Regions from separate parts of the Homo sapiens genome. Here all the other regions are linked to region 1. The links are contacts of gene promoters, found by promoter capture Hi-C in human tissues and cell types (Jung and others, 2019). All regions are on one chromosome and are shown on one strand. Each heading gives the region's core, a stretch centred on a gene start or on the middle of the fragment in contact. The rest is flanking DNA. Distances are from core to core; before and after follow the strand shown.

Region 1 (2,700 bases), core at 71-2,570:
AAAATAGCAAACACATATTGTTTGTAAATGCAACACAAAAACGTTAATGCTCTGGTTTCTATCTGCCTTGTCATTCCGTTATTTGACTCCATTTTCGAGGTTAGAAACTCACTGTAAGGTGGCCGGGCGAGGTGGCTCACACCAGTAATCCCAGCACTTTTGGAGGCCAAGGAGGGTGGATCACCTGAGGTCAGGAGCTCGAGACCAGCCTGGCCAACATGATGGAACTCCATCTCTACTAAAAATACAAAGAAAATTAGCCGGGCGTGGTGGCAGGCGCCTGTAATCCCAGCTATTCGGGAGGCTGAGGCAGGAGAATCACGTGAACCCAGGAGGTTAGAGCTTGCAGTGAGCCGAGATCGCGCCACTAAAACAAACAAACTCACTGTAAGGAAACAATGTAACCCAAGGCATTTGGGGTGACCTTCACGTTGCCTGAGGGTGCCGAGGGACCAGAGATGCTGGCCATGGACTAAGGTCTGGGTATTCTCAGGCAGCAGGGACAAGGTGGGCTTTTTTCCTGGTTGCTAAACCCACGTCAAAGTCGAGCTCAGGGACTGGAGCTCAAGAAACCCACCGCCCATTCTCCAGTCCGACCGGGGACCTGCATGCACCTCTGCCGTGCTGCCCTGAGTCCTCCAATCCTCCACACTCTTCCTCTGTTATGTACACGTCTCCACCCAGGCCTGCAAAAGTCCCAGCTTCCTCGCAGGGGCAGGGACCCGCACGCCGGCCCAGGGCTTGGCACGCGGGGATGCTGAAACAGGGCCAGGCCTGGTTTCCAGCCGATCGTCAGAGTCCCAAGGCCCAGCAACCTTCCTCACAAAGGCCTCGTTAAGAGGCGAGGAAACAAGAGCCGGGAGAGGGGCGCGGAACGGCGGGCGGGACGAACGACCAGCTCCGCGCCTCCGGCCAGCTGCGTCGAGCCAGGGGCACCGCGGCTGTTGTGCGGCTGGAAATCTAGGAATGGGAAGGTTCGGGGCCTGCTCGGCTCCGGAGGCAGCTGGCGGGTCGTCCCTGGCGGCGTTGGAGCGGTCAGTGGCAGCCGGGCACGGGCGACCGGGTCGCCCGGGTCGCCCTCAGACCGTGACTCCCGAAAAACCTTGCGGGCGGGGCGCGCCCGCGCCGTCTCTTGCCGGAAGGTGCGAGTTAGTGCGCTCGATTGTGGGCGGGGGCGGAAAGAGGCGCGTTTTAAAGTGGTAACAGATGGTTTTCTTATCCAATAGGATTAAAAAATTTGTCCTTACCCGGCCGACCGCGGAAGTAGAGTAGGCGGGCGGCCAATGGGGACATGATGGGGGGCGGAGCCGAGGCCTCCGAAGCGGAAGTGGGTTGCTGTTGAGGCGGCGGCATCTTTCTCGAGGAGCTCTCCTGGGCGGCTGAAGAAGGAGCTTCTTCTCCGGAGTGCGCCGGCGGTGGCGCCTGCGGACCTAACTAGCTCCAGGTTAGGCCGAGCTTTGCGGGAAAGCAGCGGTAAGTCAGGGCCTTGCAGATGCGAGGTTTAGGCAGCTTCGCGGCCTACAGAGGCCTCGGCCCGCGCCTCTTGGGGGAGCCGCGCTGCGCGGCTTGACCCAGCCGAGGCTTTGCAGCCCGGGACCTCGAGCCAGCTCTGGTCGCTCGCACTGCCGTCCGCGCGGGCGCACCGAGCCCGGCTTGGCGCGGGCAACAGAAGTTAGGAGGTCTGCGTCTGGGTCTCGGCTCACCCTGGGGGGCCGCGGCCATGGGGCTTAGTTCCTAGCCTAGGAAGGGAAACTGAGACTCTGGGAGGGGCAGGAACGCCCCCAAGGTCACTTGGAAAGTCGGGCAGGATGTGCTGTTAGGGGGAAGACCCGGGCAGGGTTTTTGTTCCCCGCTGACGACGCCTCCTTTGTGTGTTCGCGCCGCCGCCCCGCCATCGTGGGGCCTGCGAGTTTGCCGGGGTGCGTGGGCCGCGTGGCGGGGCCTTTTGTAGGTCGGGAGGATCTGAGTACGGGTGCGGGCCTGACCGTGGGGGCGCCGAGGTCGCAGTCTAAAACTTAGTAGGGCCTCGATTTCCGGGCGCGCTTCCGGGCCCCGGCTGGTGGTTGGTGGAACGTGCGACTGTGAGGCTTGCGGCCCAGCCCTGCACCGCTCGGGCCCTTCACCGCTCTGGCGCGCCTATAGACAGGTGTATGAAGATTCTCACGACCCGAAACAGAGTTGCTAGTAAACACCGCTTTTCCGCCTTTGATCCATCGAGGGAAGAGGGAAAAGGATAGAGCTTGGGCAAGCCGTTTTGGTAGGGATTTCAGCTTTTGTCTTTCACTTGTCAGTTCCCATAGACGTTCACAAACTTAATAATCTTCGTTCTGTTTCTGCACCAAGTTCTTGAGCCAGACGTAGGGTCTCAGCTCTGGAGCCTGGCTTAGACTGTCCAACTGACTGGGGAGACTGAGGTCCAGAAAAGTGAAGTGGTCTGCCCAAGGTCACATAGCCAGCTATTTGGCAGCAGATGAGGTTAAGTCCTACCTGCAAGATTTGGGTTTTGAATTCATTGACCAGGAGTTTTGGGACCACTGTCAATAAAAGAGACATTGAAGGGAATCTTTTGTTACTTTCTTGGTGATTTGCTTTTTAATGGACAAGGACATATTGGGTTCAGTTTTATCTGTGAGTTTGAGGTGAAATAGAGGCATTCGAGTAGCAAGATATATTGCTGGCTTTTGTATTGCCTGAATTTGA
Region 2 (2,700 bases), core at 58-2,557, 520 kb after region 1:
CCAGGCACAGTGTTTCATGCCTGTAATCTCAGCACTTTGGGAGGCCGAGGCAGGCAGATCGCTTGAGCTCAGGAGTTCAAAACCAACCTGGGCAATATGGCAAAACCGCATTGCTACAAAAAAGAAAAAAAAAATTAGCTAAGCATGGTGGCGTGCACCTGTGTTCTCAGCTACTTGGGAGGCTCAGGTGGGAGGACTGCTTGAGCCCAGGAGGTCAAGGCTGCAGTGAGCTGGGATCATACTGCTATGCTCTAGCCTGGACAAGAGAGTAAGACCCTGTCTCAAAACTACCTCCCAACATCAATTAATTAATCTTTAAAAAGCTTGAATTTATTATAAATGTTCCTCTTTTGCATTTTGTTTGATGTCATGAGGAAACTAACAATTAGATCTCTTAGAAAATTGATTCAGTGTATTTAAAGTTTCAGAATATAGAGTTGGAGAATTTTATTTGTCTCTCTTGGACTAAAAATAACATTTTTTCCTAAAAGCTTTAATGGGTCTTAGCTTTTATGCTTTTGACTTACTTGGTTCTTGTAGTTCAGTATGTCACTGAAATTAGAGCTGTAACCTGCTTCCTTTCATGTGACTTCTGTTAGAAGTCCTCAATTCTGGGCAGGGCCCTATATTGTAAGGATGGAAGGAGAAAAGGAACAACAGGGATAGCAAACATGTAATTAACACTGCTCTAGGCCAGGTGTGGTGGCTCACGCCTGTAACCCCAGCACTTTGGGAGGCTGAGGCGGGTAGATCACTTGAGGTCAAGAATTCGACACAGGCCTGGCCAATATGGTGAAACCCTGTCTCTACTAAAAATACAAAAATTAGCCAGGCGTGGTGGTGCATGCCTGTAATCCCAGCTAATAGGGAGGCTGAAGCATGAGAATCACTTGAACCTGGGAGGTAAAGGTGGCAGTGAGCTGAGATCGTGCCACAGCACTCTAGCCTGGTCAACAAGCGAGACTCTGTCTCAAAACAAAACAAACAAAAAAACACAAAAAAATCACTGCTCTAACATGTAATACATTATGTAATTATCACAACAAACCTATGAGGTAGATACTATTCTCAAGTCTATTTTCATATGATAAGACTGAAAATCAGTGACTAAGTGACTTACCCAAGGTTACACACCTAGTAAGTGTCAGAACCAGGAATCGAACATGTGGAGAATGGAATTAGTGAATAGTGTGGTGAGAATGAGTTCAAAATATTTGGATTTGAAACATAGCCAACTGGATATAGGGCCATCATCTTAGGGGAGCTTCGTTGTACAAAAAATAGAGTGCCAGAGGGGATGGCCAGCAGGACCATCTAGCAGCACAAAGATACATAGCAGTGGGTGTCAGAGGTGTGATTCAGACCCTAATGAGTTTTCTACCCCAGCCTCCAGCCTTACAGATTACTCTCTCAAACACAGCTGTTACAACATGAGCATATTTGTAGGTACCCCCAGGACACTAGTTAGAATGAGTAGAAGTTTCATTTATCTAGTTCTAATTTTTATTTTTATTTTTTTCCCTTTTTTGAGATAGCACCTTGCTCTGTTGTGCAGGTTGGAGTGCAGTGGCACGATCTTGGCTCACTGCAGCCTCTGCCTCCCGGGTTCAAGTGATTCACATGCCTCAGCCACCTGGGTAGCTTGGATTACAGGTGTGCACCACCACACTTGGCTACTTTTTATATTTTTAGTACAGACGGGGTTTTGCCATATTGGCCAGGCTAGTCTCGAACTCCTGGCCTCAAGTGATCTGCCTGCCTCGGCCTCCCAAATTGTGGGGATTACAGGCGTGAACCACTACACCCGGCTCCATTTATCTAGTTATTATTCTTTTTAAATTAGCTCCCTTTTCTTTCTTCACCTCTTCTGAAGAAATACCCATATAGCAAGGGAGGGCATCAAGAAGAAAGAAATAATTATAAAGAAAAACAAAAGAAAAAATTTAAAAATGAATCATGGTAGATATAGCAAATGTGGAAGAGGAGGGAAGGGGAGGTTATACATGTGTGGCTTGGTGCCTTAGTCTGTTTTGTGCTGCTGTAATAGAATGCCAGAGACTGGGTAATTTATGTATTTATTTATTTTAACTTCTATTTTAAGTTCGGGGGTACATGTGCAGGTTTGTTACGTAGGTAAACTTGCATCATGGGGTTTGTTGTACAGATTATTTCATCACCCAGGTATTAAGCTTAGCACCCTTTAGTTATTTTTCTTGATCTGCTCCTTCCCCACATCCCCCATCCTCCAATAGGCCCCATTGTGTGGTGTTTCCCTCTGTGTGTCCATGTGTCCTCATCATTTAGCTCCCACTCTTAAGTAAGAATATGTGGTATTTGGTTTTCTGTTCCTGTGTTAGTTTGCTAAGGATAATGGCCTCCAGCTCCATCCATGTTCTTGCAAAGAACATGATCGTTCTCTTTTTTACGGCTGCATAGTATTCCATAGTGTATATGTACCCCATTTTCTTTATCCGGTTTATCATTGATGGGCATTTAGGTTGATTCCATGTGTTTGCTATTGCAAATAGTGTTGCAATGAACATATGCGTGCATGGAGACTGGGTAATTTATAATAAAAAGAAATTTCTTGGCTCACAGTTTTAGAGGCTAGGATGCCCAGTTCAAGGTGTTGTTGACCTAAAATGAAGAAGCTGAGACACAAAATGTAATTTAAAGAGTTTACTTGGACCAGGTGCTGTG
Region 3 (2,700 bases), core at 143-2,642, 610 kb after region 1:
GCCAACCTTACTCCCTGCTGGGCAGGCTGGACAGCTGCCCTCTCCGTTTGCCCCTCTACCACCCAAAAGGCAGGAGGCTCTGGAGACCAGGACCCTGCCCGCCACGGCCTGTGTCCCAGGCGTGAGGGGGTGCCCCACAGACCTCTGCTGAGCTGCTGCTGAATGACGCCCCTTGGGGGTCCTGCCGGAAGGTCAGAGCAGGGGTGCACTCCCATAAAGAAACGCCCCCAGGTCGGGACTCATTCCTGTGGGCGGCATCTTGTGGCCATAGCTGCTTCTCGCTGCACTAATCACAGTGCCTCTGTGGGCAGCAGGCGCTGACCACCCAGGCCTGCCCCAGACCCTCTCCTCCCTTCCGGGGCGCTGCGCTGGGACCGATGGGGGGCGCCAGGCCTGTGGACACCGCCCTGCAGGGGCCTCTCCAGCTCACTGGGGGTGGGGTGGGGGTCACACTTGGGGTCCTCAGGTCGTGCCGACCACGCGCATTCTCTGCGCTCTGCGCAGGAGCTCGCCCACCCTCTCCCCGTGCAGAGAGCCCCGCAGCTGGCTCCCCGCAGGGCTGTCCGGGTGAGTATGGCTCTGGCCACGGGCCAGTGTGGCGGGAGGGCAAACCCCAAGGCCACCTCGGCTCAGAGTCCACGGCCGGCTGTCGCCCCGCTCCAGGCGTCGGCGGGGGATCCTTTCCGCATGGGCCTGCGCCCGCGCTCGGCGCCCCCTCCACGGCCCCGCCCCGTCCATGGCCCCGTCCTTCATGGGCGAGCCCCTCCATGGCCCTGCCCCTCCGCGCCCCACCCCTCCCTCGCCCCACCTCTCACCTTCCTGCCCCGCCCCCAGCCTCCCCACCCCTCACCGGCCAGTCCCCTCCCCTATCCCGCTCCGCCCCTCAGCCGCCCCGCCCCTCAGCCGGCCTGCCTAATGTCCCCGTCCCCAGCATCGCCCCGCCCCGCCCCCGTCTCGCCCCGCCCCTCAGGCGGCCTCCCTGCTGTGCCCCGCCCCGGCCTCGCCACGCCCCTACCTCACCACGCCCCCCGCATCGCCACGCCCCCCGCATCGCCACGCCTCCCTTACCATGCAGTCCCGCCCCGTCCCTTCCTCGTCCCGCCTCGCCGCGACACTTCACACACAGCTTCGCCTCACCCCATTACAGTCTCACCACGCCCCGTCCCCTCTCCGTTGAGCCCCGCGCCTTCGCCCGGGTGGGGCGCTGCGCTGTCAGCGGCCTTGCTGTGTGAGGCAGAACCTGCGGGGGCAGGGGCGGGCTGGTTCCCTGGCCAGCCATTGGCAGAGTCCGCAGGCTAGGGCTGTCAATCATGCTGGCCGGCGTGGCCCCGCCTCCGCCGGCGCGGCCCCGCCTCCGCCGGCGCAGCGTCTGGGACGCAAGGCGCCGTGGGGGCTGCCGGGACGGGTCCAAGATGGACGGCCGCTCAGGTTCTGCTTTTACCTGCGGCCCAGAGCCCCATTCATTGCCCCGGTGCTGAGCGGCGCCGCGAGTCGGCCCGAGGCCTCCGGGGACTGCCGTGCCGGGCGGGAGACCGCCATGGCGACCCTGGAAAAGCTGATGAAGGCCTTCGAGTCCCTCAAGTCCTTCCAGCAGCAGCAGCAGCAGCAGCAGCAGCAGCAGCAGCAGCAGCAGCAGCAGCAGCAGCAACAGCCGCCACCGCCGCCGCCGCCGCCGCCGCCTCCTCAGCTTCCTCAGCCGCCGCCGCAGGCACAGCCGCTGCTGCCTCAGCCGCAGCCGCCCCCGCCGCCGCCCCCGCCGCCACCCGGCCCGGCTGTGGCTGAGGAGCCGCTGCACCGACCGTGAGTTTGGGCCCGCTGCAGCTCCCTGTCCCGGCGGGTCCCAGGCTACGGCGGGGATGGCGGTAACCCTGCAGCCTGCGGGCCGGCGACACGAACCCCCGGCCCCGCAGAGACAGAGTGACCCAGCAACCCAGAGCCCATGAGGGACACCCGCCCCCTCCTGGGGCGAGGCCTTCCCCCACTTCAGCCCCGCTCCCTCACTTGGGTCTTCCCTTGTCCTCTCGCGAGGGGAGGCAGAGCCTTGTTGGGGCCTGTCCTGAATTCACCGAGGGGAGTCACGGCCTCAGCCCTCTCGCCCTTCGCAGGATGCGAAGAGTTGGGGCGAGAACTTGTTTCTTTTTATTTGCGAGAAACCAGGGCGGGGGTTCTTTTAACTGCGTTGTGAAGAGAACTTGGAGGAGCCGAGATTTGCTCAGTGCCACTTCCCTCTTCTAGTCTGAGAGGGAAGAGGGCTGGGGGCGCGGGACACTTCGAGAGGAGGCGGGGTTTGGAGCTGGAGAGATGTGGGGGCAGTGGATGACATAATGCTTTTAGGACGCCTCGGCGGGAGTGGCGGGGCAGGGGGGGGGCGGGGAGTGAGGGCGCGTCCAATGGGAGATTTCTTTTCCTAGTGGCACTTAAAACAGCCTGAGATTTGAGGCTCTTCCTACATTGTCAGGACATTTCATTTAGTTCATGATCACGGTGGTAGTAACACGATTTTAAGCACCACCTAAGAGATCTGCTCATCTAAGCCTAAGTTGGTCTGCAGGCGTTTGAATGAGTTGTGGTTGCCAAGTAAAGTGGTGAACTTACGTGGTGATTAATGAAATTATCTTAAATATTAGGAAGAGTTGATTGAAGTTTTTTGCCTATGTGTGTTGGGAATAAAACCAACACGTTGCTGATGGGGAGGTTAAT
Region 4 (2,714 bases), core at 1-2,500, 580 kb after region 1:
AATTTTGTATTTTTAGTAGAGACGGGGTTTCTCCACGTTGGTCAGGCTGGTCTCGAACTCCCGACCTCAGGTGATCCACCTGCCTTGGCCCCCCAAAGTGCTGGGATTATAGGTGTGAGCCACCGCGCCTGGCCTTTTGCCAGTTTGATATTTGGTGCCCCCATGCAGCCAGTTGGGTGGCAACTTGCTGCTCAAATTTAAAAGTTGAGAGGCTTTTGCCTGTGGTTCAATGAAACAAAAAAAGATCATTTTCCTTTATGATGTGGCTTGGCCCTCAGGGATATGATGTGGAGAGCTGGGTCACTAGGGCTACTCAGGGAAAGGGAATCCAGAAGCCTGGCACACAGCAAAAGGGTAAGAATTTCTTACCAGTCAGATTTCTGACCTCTCTCTCTCTGTGTGTTCAAACTGGTTGAATGAATTAAAAAAAAAAAAATCACTGCTTATCTCCTCTGTAAAGTTTTGATTAATGGAAAAAAGGATTTGTGAGGCTAATCTCAGGCTGTAGTGAATCTCGTAGGCTTTATGTGTCTTCCCGTGCTGTTCTGTGATAAAAAGGGGCGCCTTAGGATAGAACATGGGCTTAAAACCCCATAAGCTTGCTCGCCGCTCAAGATGGCCCAACAAGCTGGTCAGTAACTGCTGCAGATCCCTGAAACAAACAAAAAAACTAGATGAGGTCTCCATCTTGTTTTAAGTCTTTGGGAGTTTGACCTTGTAACCATGTGGCGGTTACTTGGTCTCCACCTTCCAAGTGGAACAGGAATTTTGGGTTCATGTCATAGTTAGCTCTACAATCTATCTTGAGTAGTTACGAGGCTTTGCCAGCTGAAAATTAACTACTCTAGACTCTTTCTGGGAAGGGCAATGGAGACTGCCCAGTGCTATAGTTCAGTGGTGATCTGGGTTTGATTCCTGGCTTAGGGAATGAGTACTTTCTAATTGATATTTGGGTAACCTTTGCCATTTTTTGATTTTCTCCCCCTCCACAAACTGTCTTGAATTGCCTTTCTCAGAGCACCTGGGAGGTTACTTTCAATAGTTTAAAGGCAGGAATATTGGCTGTTTGGCCTGATGAAAGTTGGGTAATAAGCAATTTAAAAGAACTTTTATTAAAGAGTGCAATGGTTAAAAGTCAGCTTAATTAAAAGTAGATATTCTGGCTCTAACAGCCTGGGACTCCTTGGGAAAACAGGAGGTGCCAGAGACCCCGTTTTGGGAAAAAACTCTGTTTTACTCATGAAACCCCAGAAATTGGAAGTAGATAGATTCCTTTCAAAATCTAAGGCTCTGTTCTGTTTTGCATTGGATTATCTACTGTTTTTTACTTGGGGGTATCAGAAATTACTTCACATAGAGACTTGGTGTGTAATAACTAGGCAGGAAATATACTTTAGGGATGTCTAATGGCAGTTATGGGGCTGACTCCCTCTTTTTTGGGGGGGATCCAGGATCTGGTATAAAAACGAGACCTCAGGCTGGGCATGGTGGCTCACGCCTGTAATCCTAGCACTTTGAGAGGCCGAGGTGGGTGGATTGCCTGAGCTCAGGAGTTCGAGACCAGCCTGGGCAACATGGTGAAACCCCACCTCTACTAAAATAAAAATAAAAAAAAATTAGCCGGGCATGGCGGCATGCGCCTATAGTCCCAGCTATTTGGGAGGCTGAGGCAGAAGAATCGCTTTAACCCAGGAGGCGGAGGTTGCAGTGAACTGAGATGGTGCCACTGCACTCCAGCCTGGTGACAGAGCAAGACTCCGTCTCAAAAAAAAAAAAGAGACCCTTAATTTTTGGAGATCCGTTTTGCCTTCCAGCTGTGCCTGCTTATTATATTAGGCCCTAGAAACTGCATGCTTTCCTGGTCCTGTTCTTCCAAGGACTCCATCCTAAAGCCAGTAATCCAATTTAGAAACTTAGAAAGTGGTAAATGAAAAATCTTACAACTATTGGATCTTCTTCTGTCTGTCTGTGTAGTTATATATGTGTTGTGTGTTTAATGTTTATATAAAAGAGCTCTAATTGCCAGGCACATTGGCTCACGCCTATAATCCCAACACTTTGGGAGGCTGAGGTGGGTGGATCGCCTGAGGTCAGGAGTTCGAGACCAGCCTGGCCAACCAGGCGAAACCCCGTCTCCACTAAAAATACAAAAATTAGCCAGGTGTGGTGGCGCATGCTGGTAATCCCAGCTACTCAGGAGGCTGAGGCAGGAGAATCACTTGAACTCAGGAGGTGGAGGTTGCCCTGAGCCAAGATTGTGCCACTGCACCCAAGTCTGGATGACAGAGTGAGACTCTGTCTCAAAATAAAAATAAAAATAAAAATAAATAAAAGAGCTCTAATTAATTGGCTTTAAGAAAAATGAGTGCTTAAATCAAATATTTTGAAAGAAAAATAAAAACTCTAATGCCTTTTAGTGCATGTAACTTCAGTAATCTTTGGGAAATAAAAAGTTTTAAAGGTTACTGGTGAAAATAAAGACATTTGGCCTAAATTAGGCAGGTTAGATATTAGGTTTGCTAACTTCTTTTTTTTTTTTTTTTTTGAGATGGAGTTTCACTCTTGTTGCCCAGGCTGGAGTCCAATGGCGTGATCTAGGCTCACTACAACGTCTGCCTCTCGGGGTTCAAGCAATTCTCCTGCCTCAGCCTCCCGAGTAGCTTGGATTATAGGCATATGCCACCATGCCCAGCTAATTTTTGTATTTTTAGTAG

Evidence for each region. Contacts are between HindIII fragments. The study calls those that stand out against the background at their distance.
Region 2: a fragment that was not itself captured here is called in contact with the fragment with the promoter of RNF4 in region 1 in 2 of the 25 tissues and cell types used here (dorsolateral prefrontal cortex and mesenchymal stem cells).
Region 3: the fragment with the promoter of HTT here is called in contact with the fragment with the promoter of RNF4 in region 1 in 1 of the 25 tissues and cell types used here (spleen).
Region 4: a contact is called between a fragment that was not itself captured here and the fragment with the promoter of RNF4 in region 1, in 1 of the 25 tissues and cell types used here (lymphoblastoid cells).

The regions. Positions count from the first base shown.
Region 1 is chr4:2,467,786-2,470,485 of GRCh38, forward strand. RNF4 (ring finger protein 4) reads left to right here and starts at 1,321. Exons shown (of 8, transcript NM_002938.5): 1 at 1,321-1,473. LOC107986250 (a long non-coding RNA gene) reads right to left here and starts at 1,166. Exons shown (of 2, transcript XR_001741551.3): 1 at 615-1,166. RefSeq lists a silencer at 864-1,033 and enhancers at 1,184-1,543, 1,227-1,799, 1,844-1,963. The HindIII fragment of the contact is 20,287 bases long and covers 1-2,700 here.
Region 2 is chr4:2,992,701-2,995,400 of GRCh38, forward strand. The region is part of intron 4 of GRK4 (G protein-coupled receptor kinase 4); the gene reads left to right. Among named protein-coding and RNA genes, the nearest start is that of GRK4, 30 kb to the left of the region's middle. The HindIII fragment of the contact is 3,591 bases long and covers 1-2,700 here.
Region 3 is chr4:3,073,289-3,075,988 of GRCh38, forward strand. It overlaps HTT (huntingtin), which reads left to right and starts at 1,393. Exons shown (of 67, transcript NM_001388492.1): 1 at 1,393-1,800. The coding sequence starts at 1,538. It also overlaps HTT-AS. RefSeq lists silencers at 449-1,068, 1,219-1,658, 1,769-1,838 and enhancers at 1,999-2,228, 2,239-2,288. The HindIII fragment of the contact is 13,196 bases long and covers 1-2,700 here.
Region 4 is chr4:3,051,231-3,053,944 of GRCh38, forward strand. It overlaps HTT-AS. Among named protein-coding and RNA genes, the nearest start is that of HTT, 22 kb to the right of the region's middle. The HindIII fragment of the contact is 3,017 bases long and covers 1-2,714 here.